Linked DNA regions of Homo sapiens: all the other regions are linked to region 2. Evidence: promoter capture Hi-C in human tissues and cell types (Jung and others, 2019). All regions are on one chromosome and are shown on one strand. Each heading gives the region's core, a stretch centred on a gene start or on the middle of the fragment in contact. The rest is flanking DNA. Distances are from core to core; before and after follow the strand shown.

Evidence for each region. Contacts are between HindIII fragments. The study calls those that stand out against the background at their distance.
Region 1: a fragment that was not itself captured here is called in contact with the fragment with the promoter of GPR18 in region 2 in 1 of the 25 tissues and cell types used here (dorsolateral prefrontal cortex).
Region 3: a contact is called between a fragment that was not itself captured here and the fragment with the promoter of GPR18 in region 2, in 1 of the 25 tissues and cell types used here (spleen).

What each region holds. Positions count from the first base shown.
Region 1 is chr13:98,460,439-98,463,180 of GRCh38, reverse strand. It overlaps STK24 (serine/threonine kinase 24), which reads left to right. Exons shown (of 11, transcript NM_001032296.4): 8 at 1,284-1,407; 9 at 2,741-2,742. Among named protein-coding and RNA genes, the nearest start is that of FARP1-AS1, 26 kb to the right of the region's middle. The HindIII fragment of the contact is 4,293 bases long and covers 1-2,742 here.
Region 2 is chr13:99,257,018-99,259,749 of GRCh38, reverse strand. GPR18 (G protein-coupled receptor 18) reads left to right here and starts at 1,371. Exons shown (of 2, transcript NM_001098200.2): 1 at 1,371-1,596. The region is part of intron 4 of UBAC2 (UBA domain containing 2); the gene reads right to left. LOC124903198 (a long non-coding RNA gene) reads left to right here. Exons shown (of 3, transcript XR_007063846.1): 3 at 1,164-1,311. The HindIII fragment of the contact is 6,968 bases long and covers 1-1,384 here.
Region 3 is chr13:98,486,846-98,489,545 of GRCh38, reverse strand. The region is part of intron 2 of STK24 (serine/threonine kinase 24); the gene reads left to right. Among named protein-coding and RNA genes, the nearest start is that of FARP1-AS1, 52 kb to the right of the region's middle. The HindIII fragment of the contact is 3,535 bases long and covers 1-2,700 here.

The DNA of each region.
Region 1 (2,742 bases), core at 219-2,718, 800 kb after region 2:
GGAGGTGGTCGGGCAGACTTGTGTCTGGAAGTCCGAGCGTGGGACTCGTCTGTTCTCGTGCATGCCTTGGCAGAAGTTAAAGTTGGCCCACAGTGCAGGTCCATGTGCCAGGCCAGTTGAATGAGGATTTCCGGGGATGAGACCCTAAGTGGTTTTTCAGGGTCTCTAGGTGATTCCAGTTTAAAGCCAAGGTTGAGACCACTGCCCCCGGAAGTTCTTGAGGTACTGCCATTGGGAGATTGCTGGGGTAGCAACAGGGATGACAAGAGAAAGAGACTGGAGAGAGGTTTGGAGAGCCAGGACGCGGCGGTGGATTTGGGTGAAGGAGGGAAGCCAATGTTCCAGGCTGGGGCAGCGTGGCACCAGGTGTTGTGATGTGTGGTGCGGGAAGCCGAGTGTGGGGTGAACCGTGTGTGAGTCTGAGTTGTCCAGGAGAGACGTCCAGTGTGAAGTGGCACCGAGGTGTGGAGTTCAGGTGAGAAAGCTGGGCAGGTGAAGCGGGCTTAGGGGCCACTGCTCTGTGGAGGTCACTTGAGCCGAGAGAAAAAAGGGTGTCAGTTGGGGCATGTGGGGGAGTGAGGCTGGCCCCTAGGTGTGAGGGTGAGGCTCCGCCTGTGAGTGAGAGGGGAGAGGTATGGCCGAGGGGCGGGAGGAGGTGCAGGCTTAATGGGGCCACAGGCATCAGGGGATGATCAGCAGGGCCTGGGGCTCATTGCCTCTGAGGCCCATACAGGACAGGGAGTGATCAGCACACCATCATCTCATGATGGGGGAGGGAGCGCTCGGAGGGACACGGGTGGGCTTTGGAGCGAGTGGAGGGTACCAAATAGAGGCAGTGAGTGTGAATCCCAGAACCAGGGCTGAGAGATGGCCAAGGTGAGGCCAAAGTGTTGGAATGACAGGCATGAGCCACCACACCCAACACAGGGACATCTGCTTCCCTGGTGAGAGGAGGAGCCCAGCAGAGAGAAGCTGATGTCCCAGAGATGGGCTCCCAGGGAGGTGGGGGAGGTGTTCTCCGGGAGGAGGAGGAGGGTGGGCATGCACACACTGGCACGCCAGGGAGTTGTGGAACCACCTCCCGATGGTCTCTTCTCTGTGAGGGAGGAGGCGGGGGGGTCTTTGGGAAATCCCAGAGGGACTGGACAAGGGTGTGATGGGTGGGGACTTGGGGCTGGTGGGTGTGGGTTTAGAGGTCCCCAGGCGGCCTCCCCCTGAACGTCCCAGCGCCCCCAGAGCAGGTGTGCGAGCACTGATGGGATTTCCTGCATTTCTGTGTTAAGGGAAACAGATGGCCAAGCCTCGGGGGGCAGTGATTCTGGGGACTGGATCTTCACAATCCGAGAAAAAGATCCCAAGAATCTCGAGAATGGAGCTCTTCAGCCATCGGACTTGGACAGAAATAAGGTACGTCTGCTCACTCCAGAATGGCCACGCTGACCTCAGTCTGCAGTGTTTTGGAGGCACTTGTGTGTGAAGCTTGCTGTGGGTGCGGCTGGGGTCCTTTGTGGCAGCTGTCCTGGAATTTTGTTGCTAGGGGATGGGCAGATGAAGAGCTTTAGTTCTGTCTGATGATCCAGGTGTTCACACCAGGGAGTCTGGCCTCTGGTCTGTTTTGTGCCACTCTATTCTGCTCTCTGCAGCCCTGCTGTTGAGTTAGGATGTCCCGATGTGGCAATGTCATGGGGTTTGGGGGTGACCCGTGAAATGACTTCATAGCTCTGAGGGACTGTTGTGCATGTTGCGGTTACTTACATACATATCATAATTTTGTGACTGAGTTTTAAGGACCTTATAAGTAAATGCATTGCTTTTGATATTTATGTAAAACAATTTTGATTAATTGGTTTTATGCCTGTTAAATTTATGAAAGGCCATATATTTAGGGTCTTGTAAAGCATAGTGGTGTAGTTTCTTTCAGGCAGGGTGGGCCAGTGGCTGTCCCCTGTTGATCCTACAAGTCCCGCTTTGATAAGTGAACAGGTGTTAAATGTCCAAATAGAGGTTGCAAAAGTAGAAACTCGGTCTCTGTCCTAGACAGCCATTGGAATGGCCAATCTTGACCTGATTTCTATTTCCAGGGTTTCATTAGTAAAGTACTTTTCTCTCTCTCTCTCTCTCTCTCTTTTTTTTTTTTGAGACGGGGTCTCTGTTGCCCAGGCTGGAGTGCAGTGGTGCCATCAGAGCTCACTGTAGCCTCAAACTCCTGGGCTCAAGTGATCCTCCCACCTCAGCCTCCTGAGTAACTGGGATTGCAGGCATGTGACATCACGCCCAGTTTATTTAAAACTTTTTTTTTTTTTAATAGAAACATGGTCTCACTATGTTGCCCAAGCTGGTCTCGAACTCTTGGGCTCAAGTGATCCTCCTGCTTCGGCTTCCCAAAGTGTTGGAATGACAGGCATGAGCCACCACGCCCAACCAGTAAAGCACTTCTGCGTAGATAGCAAGACGAGGCAGTTCACCGCCTGTGCCCACACAGAGTCCCCTTCCACATGGAACCCAGATGCTGGTTTCCCCGGTGCGTGGGTTTTGCATGTCACTGCAGATGAAACTTTGAAGTCTAGTGAGAGGCAGCCGATAGTCTCCTTCAGATGTTATGGTGCGCAGAGGGTGTTTCCTCAGCGTGAAGTGTAGAGGCAACTCCTGCGCTTCCATAGTCCAGGTGGGAGGTTTATTAAATTATTGCCAATGTGAACGTCAACTGTTTCTGATGACCTTTTTTTCCCTCTCCCCCAAGAT
Region 2 (2,732 bases), core at 122-2,621:
CAAAGGACAGATTAGGTCTGCATGCAGGCAGATTTCTGTCCAGCTGAAACATCAAACTCCTGTGTGATGAATGAAATATAACATCACATATAAAAAACTGATGAATGTGATTCAGCCATAAGAAGTCCTATCTAGTGGACAGATCAATATAATTACCTCATAAGAAGTTATTACAGCGGGAGAAACTGGACCTGGCTTTACCTTGAGTTCTTAAGCAAGTAACTGGCCTTCAATTTCTTCATCCACACAAGAAATAGTTGCTATGGTTGTCTCCAACACTTCTAAAACCCATCATTCTGGCAGGTTGTAACAATCAAAAGTATTTTATCACCAAAGGCAAGGATTTAAGTAACTTTTCTAAGCCACAGATTTACTATGGTTTTGTCTGAGAAAAAAAAAAAAAAGGATGGACCCCAAACTGTCTAAAATTCAAAAAAACAAATACATTTAAGTTCATGAACCCTTTAAAAAGTTGACAAACCATGCATAACCAAACATAAAGATAATTAAAATTTTAGGATAAGCAAATGAGAGATAATTTTTTTTAAGAAATGAGAAAGTAAAACAAAATTAACCTAACAAGGCAGGCAGCGATTCGTTGCTCACTTCCCTTTCTGCTGGTTTCATTTCCCTTCTTAGGTGAAAACACTCTTAATATGTAAATCAGTCCACTAAAGACTTCAGAGTCCTTTCTGCTAAGATTTGCAGAAATTTTTATGCAAAAGAAATTATTTCTAGACTTCCACGCACTAGAAAAGCAGACTTACAAAATACAGCAAACTAAAGTGGATAAATGTATGTGGCAAAGCAGAAGCAATTAATCAAGGATCCTACTTTTAAGCATTTAGAAATGTTTAAATAGTAAAAAGTGGAAATGTGGATATTCTATGATTTTTAATAACTTGGTAGTAAAAAGTGAGACTCCATTTAGGAGTACCTACTAAGTGCCAGGTACTATTAAGCACTTGGGATCTTTCTGGTTTAGGGCCCCTACAATCCTACTGGATATAGTATTATCTCTATTTCAACTGTACAGAAATGAAGTAGGAACAAAGGGTTAGTCAGAGTGGGTAGGTAACTAGACAAAGTCACATAGCTTATAAAGCAAAGAAGCTAGACTTTAAACCCCCTTTTACTCAATATCAAATCTTCTCTTTCCATAGATGATGCAGACTTCAAGCATCAAAGTACACAAACTGAAGAAACTTTATCCTTTGTATATAATTATCTTAAATATATGCCATCATTTCAAGGGGAGCTTATGCTAAGTGTGACTTCATAAACAAATCATTTGTGAAAGAGAAAAACCACATCCAGGGTAAAGTCATAAGGTGAAAAAGCCTATTTCAGAGAGCACTTCCTGAAAGAGACAAAGCAGCAATTAAAGTCAGCCCAGCACCAACTCCGACGCCAAGCGTTACACTGGAAACTACTTTTTAAAGCAACAAAAGAGTCTAAAACAAAATACAACATTTCTTAAATACACTGTTTCCAGAAAGAGCTATTTTAACAGAAGCAACTCAAAGATATCCCTTCGACAGAAGTGGAAGTGCTGAAAAATGCTCATCTCTCACACAGACTTTTGATGGACAGGAGGTAAGCAGCATTTAATTAACTTCATGATTATTGTCAAAAGTAATGCTTTATGTACTGCATTTCAAAAATCATTTCATTTTAATAATACAGGCTGGGCGCAATGGCCCACGCCTGTAACTCCAACACTTTGGGAGGCCAAGGCAGGAGGATCAGTTGTGCCCAGGAGCACCATAGTGAGACCCCGTCTCTATTAAAAAAATATATTTAATTAAAAAAATAAACATAACAAACTATGTTGGTGAAAGACCTTGAAATAGGCTATATAATCATCTTTCCACATTAATATGATTTTACATTTATTTTCAATATTGCTTTACATTAATACTAAATGTAATTTTTTTCAACTTAAGGAAAGAAAATGTTTATGGTAAATCATATGTATATTTAGGAATGTTCATCACATGTTTTCAATTACATTGTTTCATGAAATAACTTAATGGTTTTTAAGAAAAGAAAAGCTACAGATAATCATGGTATCTATAGCTTTTAAAAAGCTGACTTTAAAGTCAATCACTTTTCAATATTTATCCAAAAATTTCTGTGTTTGCAGAGCACAATCAATACTATAATGCCTTTAAAACACATGCATCACTCATTTTTTTTCAAACGTCAGCAAATGAATATAAGTATTGGTGACAAGCTACATAAAAACAGCTTGAGCATAACGTGGGAAAAAAGACTCAAGATGGTTTGTAAGTACAGGACTTATGTCACAAAATTGAAGGATGAGGATAGGTGAAGGGAGTCCTGATGCAATACTAAAAAAAGAAAAACAAATACAAAATTTCATTTATATTATAATTGCTACTATTTAATAAGAATGCATTCCAGTTAAAAATAAGATTTAAGCCTCCAAGATTACTCTCCTTTGAATGACACTAGAGATATAATTTTTCTCTGTAGCACTTTCCTCATTTGATAGAAATTAATATTCTAGTCACACCAATATTTGGAAAATTTAATATGTTTTTAAATATATAGAATTATGCTCCTAAATCATATTTAACCTAAATATTTGAGAAGGAAAGAAGGAGAAGAAGGGAAGAAAGGGAAGGGAAGGGAAGGGAAAGGAAGGAAGGCAGACAGGCACGTTTCTTGTGTTTAACCACAGCAATTGCTCAAGTTAATTCTTAATT
Region 3 (2,700 bases), core at 68-2,567, 770 kb after region 2:
TGTCATTAGAAGTTCCTGAAAGCCAGAGCCAGGGTGTTACTCACTCTGCGTTCCCCCTCAGCCACCCTGGGTACCTAGTAGGTATGTTATGTGTTAGATGAATCAGTTAAGAAATCCTAGCGTCTGTGAGCCTGAGGAACAACCACATAAGCTTTTCCAGCTCAGGAATGGTTCCTGCACTTTGAAGATGGTCAGGGGCTGCTCTGAAGGTAAAATAGGCAACAGGCTTGGATTTCTTCCGGGTTCGCAAGCCTGCAGTTCAGACAGAGGACACTGTGGAGTTAACACAGTAATAGTGGTTCAAGTTGATGAGTCTTGCTGTGTACACGGCCTCACTTCATCATCATCGAAGCCCCTCTGAGGAGCATGCACATTAGTCCCGGGGGCAATGGGAAGTGGAGGCTCATAGGCGAGGCCTTGTTGTAGTTGCCATCAGAGCTGGCCTGAGCCTGGATGCAAACCAGGCCTTAAGGCTTTGAGGCCACATGCGTCATCTGCGCGGAAAGGTACCTTTTACAAAAACTCACGCTCTTAAGGAAGTCTGTGACCCCGTGTGATTTTAATAAAGCCCGCTGCATTGTTTATACCTCTTGGTCTTGGCCTTTGGTTACAGCTGGTGAAATGTGGAGGCTGCCAAGGGCATTTCAGGTGCAGAGCAGAGTTGCAGTTTCGAATTCCTGTTTTAAAATCTTCACTGTTAGCTGTGTAGCATCTGCCCTTTCTCGTTTGTCTTTTTTTTTAACCTTGGTGGGTTCGTGTGACCTCTGCCAAGCTCCTGTGAGAGTTGTTAATGTGGGGGCCCTGGTTCCGGTCAATGATTCCGGGTTCTTAGGAGGCACTTCCAAATACTTTGGGGCAAGTTTGCCTGGAAGTGCTATGGTTATTGATAGTATGTCTATATTAAATTAATTTCTGTAAGCAAAAATTACCAGAAGCAAAAGCTAGTGTTTGCAGCTCCTATTACAGAAGGCGAACTTTCCCAATATGTTAAAAACTCCTACTTTAAAAAAAAGGTCAGTAACCCAATAGAAAAATGGACAAAGGATATACACAGCTCACAGGAAAGAAAATATGCATGACTCTTCAATATATAAAGATGTTCAGCCTTACAATAGGAGAAAGATAAATAAAACTCCCCTGAAGCATCCTTTGTGTATGAATGAATAACTGGCTTAATTTGCTGGGGCTGCCAGAACGAAGTAGCGCAGACTGGGAGCCTTCAGCAGGAATTCGTTTGCTAATAAACCTGGAAAGATGTTGGTAGGGTGGTTTCTTGGGAGGCCTCTCCCCTTGGCTTGTGGATGACCGTCTTCTCCCTGTGTGCTCATGTGGTCTTCCCGTGTGTGTGTGTGTGTGTGTGTGTGTGTGTGTGTGTGTGTGTGTGTCTTCATCTCTTTTTATGACACCAGCCGTATTGGATCAGGGCCCACCCTAATGAGCTCATTGCAACTCAGTCACCTCTTTAAAGAGTCACATTCTGCAGTGTTGGGAATTGGGACTCCAACATGTGAATCGTGGGTGTGTGGGAGAGGGAAGCACAATTCAGTCCATAAAAATGACCAAAAAATAATAATAAAATAAAACTTGATGACACTGTGGCATGGGAAAGGGGGAAATTAGCACCCTCAGACACTGCTGAGGCCATATATGGGACAGCCTCTTTGGAGGGTCACTTGTCAGTATCTGTTAAAAATTCAGATGGAGTCCCTTCACCCAGCAGGTCTGCTTCCAGGACCCAGCAAAACTGACAAATGTACAGCTCTTCCTTGACACCTGGGCCGTCAGAGCGAAAAATGGAAACAATGTGAGCTCAATAAGGCATGGGCTAATTATGGTTAAAAAAATGAGGAAGTCCTTTACATATGGACTGCTCTTTAAGAAACTTTAGGTAAAAAGCAAGGTAAACAACAGTGTGTGTAGAATGCCACCGTTTGGGTAAAAGGGGGGTAAAGTTTTGTAGGTATTTGCTCGTATGTGCATAACTATTTTTCTCTGAGGTTACATTAGATGTCGTGATGACTTGCTGGGGCAGGGACGGTTGGTTTGCTGGGTAATGGGGGCCCAGGGTGGGAGGGAGACTTCTCACTGTATATACTTTGGCACCTTTTAAATTTTCACTCCAGAATTTATTAATTAAATGAATACTTTTATTTCCCTGATGAGAAAATTGTATCACGAGGTCATTCATAACTTAGGTTATTTGAGGTTGTTGAAAAAACATGAAATTATTTCGATTAAAGTCATCATTGTGTTGAGAAGCCTGCTGGTTTATTTTTCTTGGGGAATGAGTGCCTCAGAAGTCATGGTTTGGAAGGTTTTATGAGGACAGTGGTTCCACATCTGCAGGACAGAGCTGGGTCCTTCCCGGAGAACAGGCTGCCACTCAGACGCTCCTGCCATGAGGCCTCTGGTGCAGAATACGTGAATCATTGTACCAGGCTTCATTTTGCTTAGAAACTACTTAGAATTGTTAATTGGGCCCTTTTGGTTTTACCAGGTTATTCAGAGGCATTTCTGGGTGATGATGTTGATAAAGCTGATAGCACTTTGCATCTGTTGAGCACCATGAATTTTGCCAAGTGCTTTCCCACTCATGATCTCATTTAATTGTCACTTGGAACTGTGAGGTTGGAAGCACCGATCTGATTCCCATCTTGTTGTGGATGAAGAATTTAGAGGGTTTAAATGACTTGCCTGATG